Linked DNA regions of Homo sapiens: region 2 is linked to region 1. Evidence: promoter capture Hi-C in human tissues and cell types (Jung and others, 2019). All regions are on one chromosome and are shown on one strand. The core of a region is centred on a gene start or on the middle of the fragment in contact, and the rest is flanking DNA. Distances in the headings are between cores, read along the strand shown.

Region 1 (2,812 bases), core at 313-2,812:
ACAAAAATCCTACTACATCAAATGATTTATGAAAAATAAAGGTAATTCTATCAAAAGCAATCGTGACTAGTCTTTCAACCTCGCTATGCATATATCGGGGAGTGTATTTGTTAACCTGAAAGGCAATAAAATCTGCTTATGGGTAAATCAATTCCTACCACTGGGTTCTTTTGGGAATATCTAGTAATCTAGGTCAGTAATTCTAAAACTTGAGTGTGTATTAGGATCACCTAAAAGGCTTGTTACATCACGGATTGCTGGGCTACACCTAAACAGTTTCTACTACAGTAGATCTGGGATGGGGCAAAAGAATATGGATTTCTCACAAGTTGACAGGTGATACCGATGCTGCTGGTCTAGGGATCCCACTTTGATAACCACTGACCAAAGTTTTTAAGGTCACAAGGTGTTTATAATTAGTTCAGAAACCAGGACACAACATGTTTAAAAATCCTTAGCAATACAAGGTAATATGAGGCCCCAAACAGGCAACAATGTGCACTATATAAGGGCAGTGGTGAGAGAACTCTGGTTTGGCAAGATTTCCACTCTCAAATCTGGATAGGGTTAAGATCATCAGAGAGCAGGGCATTCTAGAATGGGGAAATGAACCAAATTAGTTGGAGCTAAGACTGGAGAGGTAGGTAGGGATGTGTCTGTGGAGGGCTTTTAAGCACATCTTATAAGGAATACAGATTTTATACAACAGGTAATATTTCTTCCACCAACACACTGTCTCCTCCTGTGGCACGTGGGCAGAAAGATCTAGCTCCACATTACTGCAAACGGTTTAACCTTCCCCAAATACTGTTCAGCCGGAGTGAGGTGGGAAAGTTAGTAGATCTCTGGTGTTTGGTGAAGATACCAAGTTAGACTGAGAGGTGGATTACTTGCATCGCTGAGTCCAAAAGTTGTCGGCTTTTGCAGGGATGGGAAAGCAGGAAACTTTTGGAGGTCTCCCAAAATATAAGAAAAGATTGTTTGGGTGTGGATTTAGGTTGAGGACAGGAACAGGAAATATCCTGGGATGTCTGAGGCAACCCAATAGAGGGTCTGAAGTGGACGAGACCATGCACTACAGTGCAATGCTTTTCCATCTTTACGGTGCACCCCAGGAGTCACCTGGTGATCTTGCTGAAGTGCATGTACTGATTCAGCAGGCCTGAAATTGTGCATTTCAAAGATTGTGAGTTCCCAGAGGATGCTGATGCTGCAGACCGCGCTTTGAAGCAAGGTACCATGGGACATCCCAGAACACCTGCGGGGAGAGAGGCCTGCTGGCCACATCCCCCGAAGAAAGGATACATGCAATCTTTTAAGCTAAGGCCCCCATCCTGTCTCTCGGGAGAGGTGAGCAGTGAGGATATGGGGACAATGAGAAGGACGGCTCAAGTAGGGCTGGGGAGGGGCAGAGGCGCCCAGGCGCGCCAGGTGCAAGCGCTCTGGAGAGTGCGGTCTGCCTGGGTCCGCGGCTCTGGGGCTGCGGCGCGATTGCAGGAGTTTCGGCCCTCAGCGGCTCCCATCGCGGCTCCCGGGAGCTAAGCGAGACGGCGACGGCGGCAGTCGTCCCTCCCCACGCGGGCGCGCGGGCATGCGGACACCCACTCGGCCGGTCCAGGCCCTCAGGCTCCCGGAAGCGGAAGGGGAGAGCGGCCCGGCCTGGGCGGCGGCGCCGGAGGAGGCGGAGGTGGCGCGGCAGGAGGAGGGGAAAGAGCTGCTGGCGGTCGGGAGAGCGGCGGCAGCGAGAGGCGAGCCAGCGGCGACGGTGAGTGTGCAGGCGCGGGGGCGAAGCGGCCGCCCCCACCCCCATCCCCATCCGCACCCCCACCCCCATCCCCGGCCCCCGCTCCGCTCTGCCGGGCCCGCCCGCCGCTCCTCCGCGCCGGGACGCCCTCACCTGTTCCTGCACGCCCCCTGCACCTGCTCTGTTTGGAACCCGGGGGTTTCTCGGTGCCTCCCCGCCCCAGGCCTGGCCTTTTTCAGAGCGTCTTCTGCTAGAGCTACAGCCCCTTGCTAAGTGCTCCTCCCTCAACTGGGGGTGGGGGGTTCCTGCTCTAGTCGAGACGATGTTGGCTAGTTATTTATTTATTTATTTTAAATCTGTATCCTGAGTTTCTCGCTTGTAAACTACAGTTTCTCTCCCCGCACCCCCGTCTGGAGACCTGCACTGGGATCCCGGGTTTCTCTGTGCTATTCCAGAGCTTTTCATTCATTCCAGACTTCTGGTGTGAAGCTGCAGAGAGGACAAACAGTTTGCTCCTTTATTGACCTTCTCACTCCTCTCCTCTTGATCCAAAGAGGTTTTCGGAAAATGGCTTATGGATGGCAGCAGTTTGCACTTGTTACTGTTCACTGTAACAGGTCGCTGGATTGTAACTGCAGAGTCCATTTAAGTTACGGTCTTTTTCAAGCTATATGTGGGTCACATTTTAAGATCCCTTGAGAGTCAGGGTGGATGTCTGTATCACCAGGGCTGAGAGGACATGACCAATTATTACTTTAAAATATTGCAATATAGCAGTCTCTAAAAGTAGAAGAGAAAAAAAAATCAAGGTCATTGTGGGCGGGTCATAAATTATATTGTAAAGTTACAGTCCAAAGGCGACTAAGGATAATTAAGTGCAATTTAAAAAGATGTGTTAAATAGGTCCTCAGCCTACTATGCTAATATATGCACTTTTAAAAATTCACTGCTTTCCTTGTGGTAAGAATAATATTAATAACAGTCACCATTTGATGACTGCTTAGTATGCGCCATTCCTGGATTAAAAGGCTTTTGGTGTAATATTAAATTCTTCCAACTCTTTAGATT
Region 2 (2,853 bases), core at 226-2,725, 1.6 Mb after region 1:
ATTTTTAAAATCCTATTTCTAATATTTGTTACACTTTCCTATTACATTTCTTATAAATACACATGTATTTATTACCTACATTTTTAAAAATAAAGGACCAGTAAACTATGATTACTTTTCAGAGTTTTCATCAAAATAGGAGAGTGGTGTCAGGTGTTTGTAATAAAGGATGCTGGTTGATCTTTAAGAACAAGTGGCTTATTTTTAGCCTAAAGAACATACAGTTTCCTCATCTTTTACTGTTTAATCCTAGGGTTAAGAAAGAAAATGTACATTTGTTTTTGTTGTTTTTGTTTGTGAGACAGGGTCTCACATTCTCACTCAGGCTGAAGTGCAGTGGTGTGATCTTGGCTCACTGCAACCTGCACCTCCCATGCAATTCTCACACCTCAGCCTCCCGAGTAGCTAGCTAGGACTACAGGTGCAAGCCACCACACCAGGCTAACTTTTGCTTTTTTTTTTTTTTTTTTTTTTTGGTAGAGACAGGGTTTCACATTTGCCCAGGCTGGTCTCGAACTCCTCCTGGGCTCAAGCAATCCACCCGCCTTTGCCTCCCAAAGTACTGTGAGAAAAGTTTCACATTTAAACTTTACATTTGTAATAGTTGTCAACCACATTTATTTGTAAGTGTCTGCTTATTATTGCTTCTATTCAATGGTGTTGATCAAAAGAGTCAAACTCTGTAAAATATTTGAGATTTATTCTGAGCCAAATATGAGTGACCATGGCTCATGACACAGCCCTCAGGAGATCCTGAGAACATGTGCCCAAGGTGGTCAGGGTACAGTTTGGCTTTATATATTTTAGGGAGACATGAGATATAAATCAATACATGTAAGATGTATGTTGGTTTGGTCTGGAAATGGGGGACAAGTGGAAGCTGGAGCTTCCAAGTCATAGGCAAATTCAAAGATTTTGTGATTGGCCACTGGTTGAAAGAGTTATTAACAGAAAGGCATGTTTGGCTTATGATAAGGGGTTGTGTAGGCCAGGGTTTTCTCATAAAGATGAAGTTTCTAGGTAGCAGGCTTCAGAGAGAATAGATTGTAAATGTTTCTTGTCAGACCTAATCTGTTCTATCAGTAATTCCAAAAGGGAGGAGGGTATAATAAGGCATGTCTGGCTACCCCTTCTTATCATGGCCTGAACTCATTATTCAGGTTAACTTTGGAATGCCCTTGGCTGAGAGGAGGAGTCCATTCAGATGGTTGGGGGGCCTTAGAATTTCTATTTTTGGTGTACAGTAGTTAATTTTTTCTAAAGCTTTTCCTTTCTGTACATTACAGTTATTCATATAGCAAAGTTATCAATGTTTTATCCTTCACTTTGCCTGTCTTGCTCTTGCATTTAATGTAAATCATAGCTGATAAATGTCATATAAGGAAGGAACTCTAGATTTCTCTGAAATGTAGTGTGAAGGGCATGGGCCTTCAGAGCTCAGGGCCCTGAGTTCGTAACCTGGCTGGGCTCCTGATTAGCAGGCAACTGACTTCTCTGAGCCTCTGCCTGCTTTGTTGGTAAAATGGAAATAATAACATTTTTCCTCACAGCACTCTTAGTATCAAATGAGATGAGGTGGTTGCATATGATAGCACCTGATAAATGCTAGAAATATTGTTACCACTGCGAAAGTCAGTGTAACTTCAGAGCTGTGGTGATACATATAGTGGAATTGTGGGGGGCCATCTGAAAGAGTGTTCTAACACTACTATGAATTTGTATCCCGACTTTCAAAATAAACTTGTAAAGTGCCTTCCTACTTTCTTATTCTAGAGATTTCCTCATAATTTCTGCCAGAAAGGGAAGCTAAAAACAAAAAGGATTCTAGGAGAATTGAGAGCTGCAAGGTCTCATTGATTGGTGAAGTGAATGTGCCACTCCTTAACATTTTAAATAAGAGATGTTTTGGATGGGAGATATTTAAACCTAGTGAGAGGTTTTATCAATCAAAACCCCAGCACTTGTATAATAAGCCAAGTATCTAGTTTTCAAGATAATGGGAAATTGCAAAATATCCATCACTCATATAATCCCTCCTCTCCAGTCATCTGTGTTAATTAGGATAAGTAGATTCCACTTTAATGCCCTTTTTATGTACAGTCCCTCTTCAAAAGGAGGGAAAAAGAAGAACTTAGCTTGGTAGACTAAACAGTATTCTAGAAGGAAGTTGGTGAGATCATACTGCTGGCAAAATGCTTGTTTTCATTCATATTCGTTATTATTTCTCAAATGGTTGATAATAAATTGGAGAAATGTAAGGTGGAAATTGTATATACCTCTAATGGTTAAGTTTTCACATTATTTTAAACAGTCAAGTAAAGGAAGTTTGCTTCTAAAGAGGACTTCTGCCAAGGGATGATCCCATTTGACCATAAAATAAGCTTCATGGTCTACAAAGACCTGGCTCTGAAAGCTCATGCTGTTGAAGGTTTGTGTTAGGGTTGGGAAAATAGAGCTTCTATTTGGGATTCTGTAGCATGCTTTTCTATGGGTGTCATGCAAGAGTGATGCCTCTCTGAACTGGACAGCAGACAATTAGTACACGTAAGCCCAATTTTTAGGTTTGCACATTGGATGAGTTAAGTTGCTAAACCAGTCTCAATCTCCTTGCTAGTAAAATGTTTTATGAATATTTATTTTAAAAATCATACATTTCAAATATTGGAAGACAGTGAAGGGCCAAGAATCACTTTGAAACATTAAGGAATTGAGATCCAAAAGAATATATGTGCGGAGCCACCTGTGTGGAAGTTATCATTTGCTATGCTAAGATATATGTGTCCATGTCAAAATTGTGATGGGAAGTTCTGAGGTGTGAAAATCATTGGTAACTTTTTCTTTGTGAACCATGGA

Evidence for each region. The method cuts DNA at HindIII sites, captures the fragments that hold promoters and counts their contacts. A contact is called where the count stands out against the background at its distance.
Region 2: a contact is called between a fragment that was not itself captured here and the fragment with the promoter of ZDHHC21 in region 1, in 1 of the 25 tissues and cell types used here (dorsolateral prefrontal cortex).

The regions. Positions count from the first base shown.
Region 1 is chr9:14,692,182-14,694,993 of GRCh38, reverse strand. ZDHHC21 (zDHHC palmitoyltransferase 21) reads left to right here and starts at 1,562. Exons shown (of 10, transcript NM_178566.6): 1 at 1,562-1,765. RefSeq lists an enhancer at 1,057-1,557 and silencers at 1,631-1,700, 1,781-1,920. The HindIII fragment of the contact is 8,706 bases long and covers 1-2,812 here.
Region 2 is chr9:13,097,593-13,100,445 of GRCh38, reverse strand. No RefSeq gene overlaps it. Among named protein-coding and RNA genes, the nearest start is that of SNORD137, 130 kb to the right of the region's middle. The HindIII fragment of the contact is 3,261 bases long and covers 1-2,853 here.